5 separate regions of the Homo sapiens genome follow, and all the other regions are linked to region 1. The links are contacts of gene promoters, found by promoter capture Hi-C in blood cells and fetal thymus (Javierre and others, 2016). All regions are on one chromosome and are shown on one strand. The core of a region is centred on a gene start or on the middle of the fragment in contact, and the rest is flanking DNA. Distances in the headings are between cores, read along the strand shown.

Evidence for each region. Contacts are between HindIII fragments. The CHiCAGO score rates a contact against its expected background, and 5 or more counts as called.
Region 2: a contact is called between a fragment that was not itself captured here and the fragment with the promoter of ACVR1 in region 1, in 1 of 17 cell types (non-activated CD4 T cells). The highest score is 5.0, in non-activated CD4 T cells.
Region 3: a contact is called between a fragment that was not itself captured here and the fragment with the promoter of ACVR1 in region 1, in 2 of 17 cell types (total CD4 T cells and fetal thymus). The highest score is 6.0, in total CD4 T cells.
Region 4: a fragment that was not itself captured here is called in contact with the fragment with the promoter of ACVR1 in region 1 in 1 of 17 cell types (activated CD4 T cells); the score reaches 8.1 in activated CD4 T cells.
Region 5: a fragment that was not itself captured here is called in contact with the fragment with the promoter of ACVR1 in region 1 in 1 of 17 cell types (non-activated CD4 T cells); the score reaches 7.1 in non-activated CD4 T cells.

Annotation. Positions count from the first base shown.
Region 1 is chr2:157,874,866-157,877,627 of GRCh38, forward strand. ACVR1 (activin A receptor type 1) reads right to left here and starts at 1,465. Exons shown (of 11, transcript NM_001111067.4): 1 at 931-1,465. It overlaps LOC105373714 (a long non-coding RNA gene), which reads left to right and starts at 1,719. Exons shown (of 2, transcript XR_923518.3): 1 at 1,719-1,851. RefSeq lists silencers at 937-1,146, 1,237-1,286, 1,297-1,516, 1,577-1,816, 1,837-2,026 and an enhancer at 1,412-1,706. The HindIII fragment of the contact is 1,597 bases long and covers 784-2,380 here.
Region 2 is chr2:157,591,323-157,594,097 of GRCh38, forward strand. All of the region lies in intron 1 of ACVR1C (activin A receptor type 1C), which reads right to left. Among named protein-coding and RNA genes, the nearest start is that of ACVR1C, 36 kb to the right of the region's middle. The HindIII fragment of the contact is 1,912 bases long and covers 361-2,272 here.
Region 3 is chr2:157,407,625-157,410,478 of GRCh38, forward strand. No RefSeq gene overlaps it. Among named protein-coding and RNA genes, the nearest start is that of CYTIP, 35 kb to the right of the region's middle. The HindIII fragment of the contact is 6,019 bases long and covers 1-2,854 here.
Region 4 is chr2:157,509,719-157,512,542 of GRCh38, forward strand. No RefSeq gene overlaps it. Among named protein-coding and RNA genes, the nearest start is that of CYTIP, 67 kb to the left of the region's middle. The HindIII fragment of the contact is 2,780 bases long and covers 1-2,724 here.
Region 5 is chr2:157,425,790-157,428,489 of GRCh38, forward strand. CYTIP (cytohesin 1 interacting protein) reads right to left here. Exons shown (of 8, transcript NM_004288.5): 6 at 1,562-1,631. Among named protein-coding and RNA genes, the nearest start is that of CYTIP, 17 kb to the right of the region's middle. The HindIII fragment of the contact is 3,928 bases long and covers 1-2,700 here.

The sequences.
Region 1 (2,762 bases), core at 215-2,714:
TGCTGCCTCTCTCCAAAAGCCAAATTCATGACAACTTTTTAACCAAGACTTTTCTTCTGTTACTAAGTGGAACGTTTTCTTCTCTAAGTAGCTTTTCTCCCATGCAAGCAGCGTTCAAATCTCCAGGGGAAAGGAGGGGTGGGGAGGGGGTGGGAGACTATCTGGCACAAACTGGACAGAGCCGAGCCAGTCTAGAACCCGACGGAAGTTACTGAATCCAGCGGCCCCAGAGGCCCACATCTCTTCTTAGTGCGCCCGAGGTTCTAGCCTCACTGTTTTGGTTACAGTGTTGAAGGAAGGGTTTTAAACTTGGCAAAGTACCGTGCAACATCTGTAACCACATTTGCCTTCTGGGGATCGGAAGATGAATCCCACATTCCTGGCTTTGAAGCTTTTTGAAACTGCAGCTAGGAAGAACCGAGGGAGGGAGGGAGTTGAGCAGAGTTTATTGGCTGTCTCTCCAGCAGAAAATTCCTCTTGGAAGAGATGGATATTTTGAGGGTGGGGGAAATTCGCCTATCTATCTCCTTACTCTCTACAAGCTCAGCTAGGAAGGTAAGCCCCGTGGCCCCGCGGCCAGATCGATTTACAAGTCAGAGTCGCACACCCTGAAGGAGTTCACAACACACACACACACACACACGCACTCACACACACCCCAATACAAACCTGAGACCCCCGCTCCACGCCTCTGCCCCCCCACCCCCCATATCCCACCAGCAGTTCAGGCCCAAAGCAAGACAGTTTTGTTCCGCGGCTGCTTCCCCCACGGAGAGGGGATCAAGCTTGGGGGAGAAAGGAATGAAAGCGAGGGGGAGGCACCGCAGACGCCCACCCTGCCACCCCCGATCCCTGCCTCTTCTCCCGCTAGGCTACCTCCTCCCTCAGTCCTCCCGGCTCCAGCAGGCGCGGCCGGCGACCTGCGCTCACCTCGGGTCCCGCCGCGGCCGGGGGCTGAGCCGGGGGAGGCGGAGTGCGAGGCAGCCGGGCGCTGCAGGTCGGCGCGGCGCGGGGCGGCGCGGGGCGGGGCGGGGCGGTGCAGCCGGCGAGGGAGCCCGGAACTCTGCGGGGCCGGGAGCCGGGGGCCGAGGGCCGGCCCAGAGCGGCGGCGGCTGCGGTGGCTGCAGCGGAGCGGTGCGTGGGGCCGGGAGCTTCCCGGCCCTGGGGCCGGCGCGGCTGGCCGAGGAGCAGGCTGGCAGCGGCAGCGGCGGCAGCGGCAGCCACCCGGGGGAAAGAGCCGGGGGAGGGCGGGGAGGCGGGGTGAAGAGGAGGAGGAAGGGGAGGAGGGCGGGCAGAATAAACTTCCCGAGGCGCAGAGGCTCGGGCTGGGAGCACGACCGCGGGCGGGGCGGGCGGACCAGCTGGGCTTGCCCCCGGGGGCGGCGGGGGAGACCGTCACAGAGAGTAGAAAAGTTCCCCCTGCGCCGAGGGGGAGGCTGCGGCGGCGGCGGCGGCTGCAAAGAGCAGGAGCCGGAGCGGGAGGAGCGGGAGGAGGAGGAGGAGGAAGTGGCTGCGGAGCGCTCGGCCAATGAGTGTCTGGAGCTGTGATTAACCAGGCAGCAACACATCATTTCCTCCCGGCGCGGATCCAGGGAGCCGGGAGGGGAGAGAGGAGGCGGCGGGGCGGGGCCGTCCCCGCGCCCCCTGCAGGCGCCCGGCCGAGGGCGAGCCCGCCGAGCCCCGCCGAGCCTGACCGCGCCGCCCCCGGCGCGCCTGGCGCTGTCTGGCCGGTCGCTTGGCCCGGGTGGAAGCTATGAGCGCGCCGCCAGCGGGGCTCCTCGGAGGCGGCGGGGCAGGCCCGAGCTGGGCTCCTGTGGCCGGGGTGGGAGGAGAAGAGGCCGCGCGGCACGGGTGAGTGCCCAGGTAGGCGCGGGCGGGGCCGTCTGGACAGCTCCCGAGGGCGCGCGGGGCAGGCGGGCGGACGGGCGGGCATCCCGGGCCCGGCGACTGCGGGCGGCCACCTACTCGAGCCCTGCATGTCAGACTTGGGCTGGATTCTCAGAGAGAAGCCTTAGCATTCTCATCCAGGCCATCTCTGACCTGCCTTCAGATCCCCTTCCACTTTGCTCATTTCCTTGCAAGGTCTAGGGTTATGACAGAGCTTGCCATGTTCGCCTTTGGCTTCCTTAGTAACAGAAATAAGCATGGAGGGGCTTCTGCAGTGATCTAGCCCTGTCCTAGGCGCCATGGGAGCTTACAGTGGAAATGCAGGAACATTCTCCGCTGCAGAGAGTCTGATAACCTCGGTCCTTAGATACACAAAAACACCCCAGTGTGCTAATATTACCCAGAGCATCAAAAAGGCATGCAAGGATCAAATTTTGCATGGTTCCTGCTGAGTGTAAAGGAAAGCACTAAGCCATTTTCTCTGCCCTCTAGAAGCTTATAATGTACAGTCCTATCACAAAGCAGAATAAAAACATGAAACCTATAAATGGGAATGCCATAAAGTATTTTTATCTCTACAGGTTCATTCATGCAGAGGGCATTTATTGGGTGACTGCAGTACTGCAAAAGGTTGCAAAGGAAATGGAAGATCTGGTCCCTGCAGGTTGGGAGTTTACAATCTAATTAGAAATACAAGGCATATATACGTGAAAAAACTAGAATCCCCAGCTGTAAGCAAAAGGATGGAGTAGGTGGGAGCATTTTTTTCATAAAGAGAGCTTTGTACCTGTATGATTGGTGAGGAGCAGGAGAGGCAAGTTCAGTACCAATCAAGGCAAGAGCACCTATATGTATCCCTGCTCTATAGAATGATG
Region 2 (2,775 bases), core at 67-2,566, 280 kb before region 1:
CACTCTGTCACTAACTTGCTGATTGACTTTGGAGAAGACATTTAACCTTACAGAGCCTCAGTGTTGTCCTCTGAAAATAGAAAATGAACAGCATAGGGAAAGTGGGTCCAAAAATCTTAAACTCTTACATAACACCAATATTTTATGACCCTACTTATTTACACCTTATGGAAATCTACAATTACAAAATAGGAAAACTCATTTAATGTTAAGAAACTTGCTGCACTATGGTTATTCTTCACTTGCATATTTTAAGGGGCTAAAGGCAGGAAAAAGAGTAACTCTTCTGACACACAATCTCAAACCATTTGTCACTAGACATTTCATCAGAATCTCCTTGGACGCTCTATTTCCAAGAAAAGCTTAGCAACTGACACAACTAACTAAGGAATATGAATCCACAGAGTGAAGACAATCATAAAGCACTCAACAATTAAATATATGTTAGTTTCACATGCATTCGTCATCTCATATAATCCCACTGCAACTGTGGGAGTTAGTTGTCACTATCTCCATTTCATACATAACAAAATGAGGCTCAAAAAGACAAAGTGACTGACTTACGTAACAGTCTCTGGACTACTCAAGCAATGGTACCTTTCATGACTAAGGTGCCATAAAGAAATGGGTAGGTGAACAATTCTCCCACCCCACAAATTTCTAGCAATTGTGAATAAAATAGAATTCTAATACAGCAGAAAGAAGCTGATAACTAATTAACAATTGAAAACTAGGATTCTGATCTGTATTATTCTAATAGCCTTTAAAACACAGTTGGTATTTTTGAAACAAATTCTACCTACCTATTTTCTGAGGGGACATGCAGTCAAATAAAATTCAATATCATGTGCCTTGCATCTAAAATAAACAATCTCACCTTACAGCTTTATCTAAATTCTGTATTAAGTAAGGCTCTGAGTACATAATCTGATACTTTCTCTTTGAAGCACTACTGGCTCCTTATAAAAATGATTACATAATAGTTCTTACCAAGGATTTATGCGGATACTCACTGAATGTTTCACAAGCTATAAAAATTTATCCTGGTTAAAAGTAAAAGTTACAAATCTTAAGAATAATATAGACATAGGTGATATAGTTAAGACAGAAAGTGACACCTTACTTTAAATCTTGCACGATGAAAAACACTGGCAAAATTGAGGATTTGTTAATGATAATGGCTTCAAACATCTGCTACATGTTCCCATTTATTCCAGTTCAACTGGCAGTATGATAGGACTGACAGCGAACAAACAGCAAACTAAATAGGACCTAAGATGAATAAGTAACATACGACATACTCAGCCTCTCATATTTCATTTCCCACCAGTCCACTATATCACTGCATTTGACATATAATTCAACTATATTTATATTAATCATCCTCAACATAGAACCTTTGTGCTGCCAATTACAATATAAGTTGCCATTAGTGATTAGACATGATTTCATATTTTGTCTCTTTCAAAAAAAACTGATGTTCATTGAGTCAATTATACTACAATATTCTGTGACAGAACAAATCTGGTTGTTAGTAGGCAGTAGTCTTGTCTCATGTTTATTTTATACTTTCCCATTACAATGTATTTGAGTCCTATGGAAAGGGACAGCAAATGAGGTTGAAGAAGGAAAACAATTACCCATAATAAGGAGGTTTATTAGATTTTTCACCACAAGGAAGATTGTACTTTGCTTTTGTCTCCTCCTACCCCTTTAATTATCCCCTTTTATCCACTCTTTGCCAATTCGTCTCTAAAAGGCAAGACATCTGTTACCCACAAGACATCTGTTACCCACATCAACTAAAGGATGTGCACATTCCTAACCAACCAGAAAATAAATATTCATCCATATTTACATGTGATGGCTAGCACACCCTGGTGTCCAGAAATATAAAAACCATCTGACTACAAAAAAGAACCAAATTTGTTGATCCGCATTTATGTGCTATTCTTATTAGAAAGCCAAATATTTATTTGGCAAATATTAGGTGTTTTGAATTAGACAGTATTCTCAATATGTTGGTTACATATTACTACGTTTCCTTTGTTTGGAGTCTATATGCTAAAATTAACCAGTGCTTAACATAAACATCTGACATAAACTCTTTCTTCTTTTCCAGACATTAGTTTATTCAATTTCTCTAGTTTTAGACCAGGCTATGAAACACAAAATATTTTTTTAATTCAGAAAACTGTCTCAGATTTGACCTGCTGAATATGTAATCTTTTCATCATTTGCAGGCTTCTGAGTTAACAAAGGGAACAATTCAAGCTTTTCAGTGTGCTGAATATGAAAAGTACAGCAGCAGGAAAGAAGCCAGGAAAACTAGCACTAGCAAATCTGAAGGAAAGCCAGACAGGGTCAAAGGAAATCGGGCAAAGATCTAGCTTCCTTTTCTATTCCTTGTCAAAATTTTATTTTCTTGTCATGTGGTCATTTCAAAGCATTTGCCTTTCTTAACAGTAAGGAAAAACAGAAAAAAGAAAGAAAGAAAGTAGCATTAATAAAATATGGGCAATATAAATGCAAACTTTTTTGGCCAAATGAGCTTTCAATAAAGATTCAGCTGGTAGAAATACTACTTCTCAGGCTGCAACCAAAAAAATTCAGAACTCCACAAATAAGGGAAAACATCCATCACAAAGAAAAACTGTTCCTTTGCACAAAGTAGCAATTACGTTCCCTGTTAAAGAAGGCCTCACCCTTAGAGCTGAGAAGGAATGAAACCACCCTACCAACAGAGATTCTGTCCAGGAGAACTGCTTAAACTTC
Region 3 (2,854 bases), core at 333-2,832, 470 kb before region 1:
GTGGTGCGATCTCGGCTCACTGCAACCTCCAACTCCCGGGTTCACGCCATTCTCCTGCCTCAGCCTCCCGAGTAGCTGGGACTACAGGTGCCAGCCACCATGCCCGGCTAATTTTTTATATTTTTAGTAGATACGGGGTTTCACCGTGCTAGCCAGGATGGTCTCGATCTCCTGACCTAGTGATCCACCCGCCTCGGCCTCCCAAAGTGCTGGGATTACAGACGTGAGCCACTGCGCCCGGCCCAAGTCGGCCAATGTTTTTAAAATAAAATTTTGTTTACATTTTATGTTAAATTTTACATAAAATTTAAAAAAGTATTTAAATTTTCTCAATTAATTCAAATACTTTATTATTCCACTGTGGTTTTTATTTATTCGTTTTACTCTTTTTAGTTAATTAAAATGTGCTTATTTTTTAGTAAACTTTATTTTTTAGAACAATTTTATATTTACAGAAAAATTGTGAAGATAGCACAGGGTTCCCAATATTAGATGTGAATAGGGGAGACTGAGCGCAAAAATACTTTGTACCCAGTTTCCTATTATTCACATCTAATGTGATTATGGTATATTTGTTACAAGTACTGAACCAATATTGGCACATTATTAACTAAAGTTTAAACTTTATTCAGAATTCCTTTTTACCTAGTGTCCTTTTCTGCTCCAGGTTGTTCTCCAGGATACCATGTTCTATTTAGTCATCATGTCTCCTTAGGCTTTTCTTGGCTATGACAGATTCTCTCACTCTACTCATTTTTAATGATCTTGACAGTTTTGGGAAGTGCTGGCGGATATTTTATAGAGTATCTCTTAATTGGAATTTGTTTGGTGTTTTTCTCATGATTAGACTGAAGCTATGGGTACTGGGCAAGAGGACCACTGAGACAAAGTGTCATTCTCACTATATAATATCAAGGACACATATTAGCAACATAAACCTATGGCAATTGATGTTGATCTCGATCACCTGGCTGGAGTAGTGTTTGTCAGGTTTCACTACTGTTAAATTACTTTTCCCCTTTTTCCATACCATACCCTTTGGAAAAAGGTCATCATATTCAGCCCACACTTAAGGAATGAGGAGTTCTGCTCCTCTTCCTTGAGGGTGGAGTATCTACATAAGTAACGGGAAATTTTTCCATACAGGAGGTTTGTCTCTTCACTCCATTTATTATTTACTCAGTCATTTATTTATATCGCTATGGACACATGAATGTATACTTATTTTATATTTTGGGTTATAATTTAATACTGTTTTATTTGTTGCTCCAAGTGTTTCATCTTTGGCCATTAGGAGCCCTTCTGATTGACTTCTATTTCCCTTTGACATATCTCAATCTTTATAAGGTTTTTTAAAAATATTTTATTACTTTCTGACATTACAAGATGCTGCAGGCCCTTCTTGTTCATTCCCTGCCCCAGACCTAGAATAAGCCATTTCTCCACGTAACTCTGGTTTATTTTATTGGGGAATGGTATTAGAAGCCAAGATCTTGGTGCTATGTGTGTTCATTGCTGCTAAAGTGTCATTACTTCCTTGACCTCTCAGCTGACAGAGCAAGGAAATAAGTGTGTATAAACTAATTCATGCATACACAGATATCTATAAATATTTATGTATGTAATCATCCATACTTTTATTAAGCTAATATTGAGTGCATACGGATGTCTAATCTAGCATTCTCCCTTACTTATCTGTGAACTTTGAATCCAACAGTAAGAAATCTGACTCCCATTATCAGCCATAAGAATTTATTAACTCTTCAATTGCAGTATACATATGTAGCACTGTCAGAGTTATTAATTGTATTCATGTGGAAAGCAAGTTTTTCTGTTAAGTTTTTCTGTTAGAGCAGAATGTTTTTGTGTGTTTTATTTTGTCTTTCATTTTATAAACTCCAATCATTTCCAGAGCTACTTAGCTCAGCATCTTTTTTTTCCACGCTCTTAAGTTGTTTTATACATTTTTGATACAGTTAGATTGTTTTTGTCACATTCTTCATTCTATCCTGGGATCCCCCAACCACCTAAGTGGATTTTTTGATAATTTGCATGCTTTTAGGATAACTCTTCATTCTGTAAAGTGCTATGGGTTTTGGCAAATGCAGAGTCATGTATCCAAGATTACAATATCGCACAGAAGAGTTTCATCACTATATAAAACTCACCAGTCTTCCTCCTATTCAACCATCTCCATGCCTTCTTCCCAGCCCTAACTCCTTAAAACCACTCATATCTTTACTATTGCTATAGTATTGCCTCTTCCACCATGTCATATAAATGGAAACATACAGTATTAGTCTTCTCAAACTAGTTTCTTTTACCTAACAACATGCATTTAAGATTCATAGTGTCTTTTAATGACTTGATAGATTATTTCTTTGTAGCTGAATAATATTGCATCTTATAGATGTAACCGTTTGTATATCCATATTTTCTCACAGCCTATGACTTGTCTTTTGATTCTCTGAACAGTGCCATTCACAAAGCAGAAGTTTTAATTTTTATAAAGTCTAATGTATCAACTTTTTCTTTCATAAATCATCCTTTTGATGTATCCAAAAACTCATTACGACACCAAAGGAAATCTAGAATTTCTCCTATGCTATCTTATAGAAGTATTATAGTTTTGTGTTTTATACCTATGTCTATGATCCATTTTGAGTCAATTTTTGTGAAACATATAAGAGCTTGCATATTGGACAGAACCATTTGTTGAAAACACTATCCTTTCTACATTTAATTGACTTTACTTCTGTGTCAAAGATAATTACTATATTTGTGTGTGTCTATTTCTAGGCACTCTGTTCTGTTCCACTGATTTATCTGTCTATTCTTTTGCCAATACCATGCT
Region 4 (2,824 bases), core at 85-2,584, 370 kb before region 1:
TTAAAACAGGGACTTCTGCTTCCATCCATGACAGGCTATCTGGTACTAAAATTGCCCTCCTGCCATAAACAGCTAAAAATCAGGAGAAAAAAAAGATATATACATATGAATGAAACATATATATATGTATAACATATGTGTGAAATATATGTGTGAAATACGTGTGAAATATATATATATAACTATATATATACACATATAAAATAAAACTCAGGCATTTAACAACAGGTGGCAGCATAGGATTATAATCCCTAAAATAAGGGAAACACCGAGCCCCACTATTGCCCAGGGTCTTTCTTTTCCTAGAGGCACTTCTTGAAAGATTGTGAGGAGAAAGGCTGAACCAAGCTAAGCTATCACATGGCAGTCTTGCTAAGTGAAGGAGACAGATATTGAAGTTTGACAAGTCTAAGATAACTGGTATTTGCAGAACCAGAGGGAGCTTCACAAGGAAGCAACTTTGAAACTCTGCAGTGAGGTACCCTTGAGTCTTTTTCTAAATGCTACGTAGTACCTACTTAGGAGAACCTTCATGAAACAAAGCAAAGAACAATTTTTGAGAAGCAGTAAAAAGAACAATCCCCAGAGTTCACACAGAGTTTGGGAGATGTCTGTGTACTGACCAAGAAGAATGTAGAGAATTTACTGAAACCTGGGGCATTCAGTTGAAATCCAGGAGGATTACACCTTTGTAGTAAGATTAAACTAGTCCTAGCGTTAAAGCTACTCTAGACCTTCCCTTACAAAACTTAAAAACAACACTTAAAAGGAGCAAACTATTCTTCAGTGCTCTTAGATGCCTTCCAAATCAAACTTCAACTCTCCTGAAAGGATGGCAATAAGATCCAGATACTCAATAATGTAACCTTTACAATGTCCAGTGTCTAATAATAAATTACTGGGTATGCAAAGAGAAAAAATATAATTCATAAATGAAAGGGCAGTTTTAAAAAAACAGACTCAGAGAAAGACAAAGATTTGAAAATAGCTATTATAAATATGGTCAAGCACTAAAGCAAATATAGAAATAGTAAACAAATGGAAGCTATATAAAAGAGACAAGTGATACTTCTAGGGCTAAGAAATACAGTATCCAAAATGAAAACTTCACTGGAAGGGTATATTAGGAGATTTTAAAATGCAAAATAAAGGAGTAATAAACTTTAATAAATAAGCAATAGAAATGAATCAAATTGAAGTACAGAGAAAAAAAGAAGCTGCAGAAAAATGAGAACCTCAGTTACCTATGGAACAATATCAAGTTGTCTGATATACATGTATTTGAAGCACCCTAGAATAGAGGAAATAGTGCATGGAATAGAAAAACAACTCTGAAGACATAGTGGTGCACAGAAATTTTGCAGATTTAATGAAAACCATAAACACACAAATCCAAGAAGTTCAGTGGAACAAAAGTAGGATAAAAACAAACAAAAAGCACACCTAAGCCCATTATAATAACATTTCTGAAAACCCATCTTAAGATGGTTTTTCAGAAAAAAAAAAAATCTTAAGATGGCAAAAAAAAAAAAAGTTACAATACAAACAGAGAAAGAGAATTACTCCTGACCTTGTCAGAAACAATGCAAATTAGAAGATAAAACAATGTATTTAATGTGCTGACAAAAATAAGCCAGAAAATCCCCAAAACTGCTTAGAATTCTATGTCCACTGAAAATATCCTTCAAAAATGAAGGTATTTTTAAACTAAAAAAAGCTGAGAGAATTTCATGCTCTATAAGGAATATTAAAAATAATCTTCTGACTGAAAAAAGTAATATCAGTCCAAACTCAGATCTATACAAAGAAGTTACAAGCATCAGCTATAGTAAATATGAGAAAAAAATGTTCATATTAAAAATATTTTCAATGTAATTTATTTAAAATGGACTGTTTAAAGCAAAAAATTACATCGCTACATTGTGAAATTTAAATAGATACAGAAATAAAATGTATGACAACCAAAATAAAAAGGACAGGAGGGAGAAAACTAAAAATACTTTGTAAGATTGTTATTATATGTAATGTGGCATAACAGTTTTTGAAGGTAGATTATGATAAGTTAAAAATGTATATTGTAAATCATAAAACACACCCTAAAAAAAAGCAAAATCACTAATAAGTCATAGAGAAAATAAATTGGAATATTAAAAATAATGAACTAATCAAAAACAAGAAAAAGTAAAAAAAAAAGGAGATGAGCAAAGTGGAAAAAATAGTAAGGTAATAAAATTAAAATTAATTATGTTGATAATTATGTTAACTATAAATGGTCTGTACACTCCAATTTTTTTTTATTTTTCTTTAAGTTTCAGGGATACATGTGCAGAATGTGCAGGTTTGTTACATAGGTATACATGTGCCATGGTGGTTTGCTGTACCTATCAACCCATCATCTAGGTTTTAAGTCCCGCATGCATTAGCTATTTGTCCTGATGCTCTCCCTGCCCTCGCCCCGCAAGCCATGACAGGCGCCGGTGTGTGTCGTTCCCCTCCCTGTGTCCATGTGTTCTCATTGTTCAACTCTTGCTTCTGAATGAGAACATGCGGTGTGTGGTTTTCTGTTCCTTGCACACGCTAATTTTTAAAAGTGAAAAGTTGTCAGACTAGAGAAAAATGTAAGACCCAACTGTACACGATCTACAAGAAATCTACTATAAATATAAGACCCATATATATTAAAGTATGGAAAAATATATACCATGCAAATACTAATCATAACAAAGCTTCAGTGGCTATATTAATATCAGATAAAGTAGCTTCAGATCAAGGAATATTATCCAACATAAAATGGGATAGTTCATAATAATAAGGGAATTCATTC
Region 5 (2,700 bases), core at 17-2,516, 450 kb before region 1:
ACTTTAAATTCAAGTACAATATGAACCACTGTTTACCCCTCATAAAAATGTAGCAACAAAAATGTTAGAAATGTTTTCTTTAAAGTCAACCATAAGATTACCATTATTTACAGTATATTGATGATCCTAGCCAATGCTATAGGAGAGGAAAAATAAATTAGTTTCAATAATTGAGCTAAAGGGGCAAAAAATTTTATTATCTGCAAATGATAAGAAATCTATATAGAAAATATAAGGAAATCTATAAAAATTATTATTAGAATAAAGGGAGTTCAACAAAACTGGATTTTTTAAATTTAAACAAAATCATTAGCAATAAGTGGCTGAAAATTAAAAGATTAATATAGCAAGAACAATGAGGAAGTAAACAAGAATGAATATAATAAATGATATGTAAAAATATAGGAAGATAATTACAAAATATTTTTTAAGTCCATAAAAGATCTGAATAAAAAGATTGAGATCCTGAATTCAAAGTGAGAAAAGTGAAAGCCATAAAGATTTTAATTGCTCTCATTTATTTCATAAATACAATTCAATTCCTGTCAAAATTTGAGCAGAGGTTTTTTCAAGGAATTCTATAAATTGATTTAACAAAGCACAGAGATAAGCACAGTGGCAAGAGTATCCAAACCAATGTTGACAAAGAAAGCAAGACTTGTTGATGAGTTGGATGTGGAGGAAGAAAAAGATACAAAATAAAATCCACTCTCTTGGGCTCAATAATTAATAAGCTCATATTTCATGAAGAAAACTAACAAATGGCAGCTATTTCTAAATAAAGCCAAAGTAAGCAACCTGCTTAAAGTAAACTACAATCTCTGCTCAGATTGGCTACCTGGTTGCTCTGCAAGGGGGAGATTGGGATGCAGAGGTCACTGAGACAAACAGAGAGGTCTTTAGAACTATGACTCAGATGCATGAGTGAGGGTCTGGACTTCATGGCTTAGGAGACCCTCATCAGCCCAGAAAACTGAGATTTTTAAAAGCCTCAAAAAACCATCCCAGGGAATTTTCAATGGACCTCCTGCATTATTTACTATCTCTTGGACGCTAATTTCTTCCTCCTTTGAATTTGCTAGTGTATTTGCCAATGAAAGCAGATTCAAGGACAGTCACAGGATTAGACGGATAAGGTTTTCGTTTTAAGGATGAGGCAGAAGAGAAGGACACCAAAAGAGGACACGGAAAAAGTGAAAAACCCAGGCCCTCCAACACACTTGGGAAAATAATGACCTTTTTTGTTTTAATTCCAAACAAAATGTAAATCAATAGAGATCACAGGTGCACTAATGAAGAGTTCTTCAAGTGGCATGCCTTCCTGTTGCCTTTCTGAGCCTCATAGACACACAGAAGGAGGAAGGAAGAAAGTGATTTACACTGGTTTGCAGAATTTGATATTCCTCCAAAGGTAATTGTGCGGCTCTTGATAATTCAGCAGTTTAGATTCACCACGACATTTCTTTTTCAAGGGCTATCTCAGTTCCTCAAATAGATCTTTATTTTACCACTCACACATTCAAGGATGAAAAATGTGCCTCACTGCATTAAATTAAATTACCTTTAAAACCTGCAGCTTTGCTTCAAGCTCCGTTCTTTTCAGAATCATTGTTCCATTAAGAGTCTCTATCCTGTTTTAAGGAAAAAAAAAAGAAGAGGAAGGTGGGGAGTGAGTAACATGAGTGATTCGTTTAAATAAGTACCATACTACAGAGTACTACACTTTGAGCACATACTATACTAAAAACGAAATACAAATGTTACAGTTCTCATGGCACTTCGAGTAGCTGGACCAAAGCCAAATCTTCTGATAACAGAGAAAGAAAATGGGGGAAAACTCCCCTTGAGAAGGTGGCTAAAAGAAAGGATCCTAGTTAATTTGTAAACTATAGCTTATTTTATAGAAGTCACTATGTGACAATGATGGCTGCTCTCTACTAGAATCTGTTCTTGTGGGGATGGGCTGAATGACCTCACTCATTTGGTAAATATTTATTGGGCATCTACTATGTACCAGATTCTAGAAACCATGCTGAACACAAGGGGCACAACAACAGAAATAATAGGCTCTAGGGGCTTTCACAACCATGGAATTAACATGCTACTTCTTGAAAGAGGGAGAAATCCTTTCCTCCATAGGATTCTAGGAGCCTTTACCTCTGTAAATCTCCTTATAATTTTGGTACTAGAAGAAACAGAAGTACAACTACTATGACATAATAACCTTCATATGATTCTTTATCTCAAAACATTCAGTTTACAAACTCTAATCCTAGAATTATCAACTTACCAGTGTTCTGTTCTTCCCACACCACACACATTTCTAAAAATAAAATACTTGTTCTATTCTGAGTGATTTGATTTGTTCTGTGTGTTCAAGTTAAAGGCTTTTATTTTGACTACTAAACCATCAATCTGAATATGATTTAAAAATTTCATTTGTGAATCACACACCAATTTTTAAAGTGTTGGTTCAAGTTCCTTCTTGTAATTAAGCTGTACCTCTCTATAAAGATGCAAGGAATTTTTCAAGGCATGGTAAAAGCATTAAATGTGGAGATCAGTCTTCTACTTCTAATAGCATCATGCCAGGAATAATCAGGTGGTAGCAAGCTATATACTGTCTGTTTTCTCCTTAAGGTGATCTTGACTCTCTGAGAAATAGTGGGAATCCATATGAATCTGTTTCATTGGGATTGA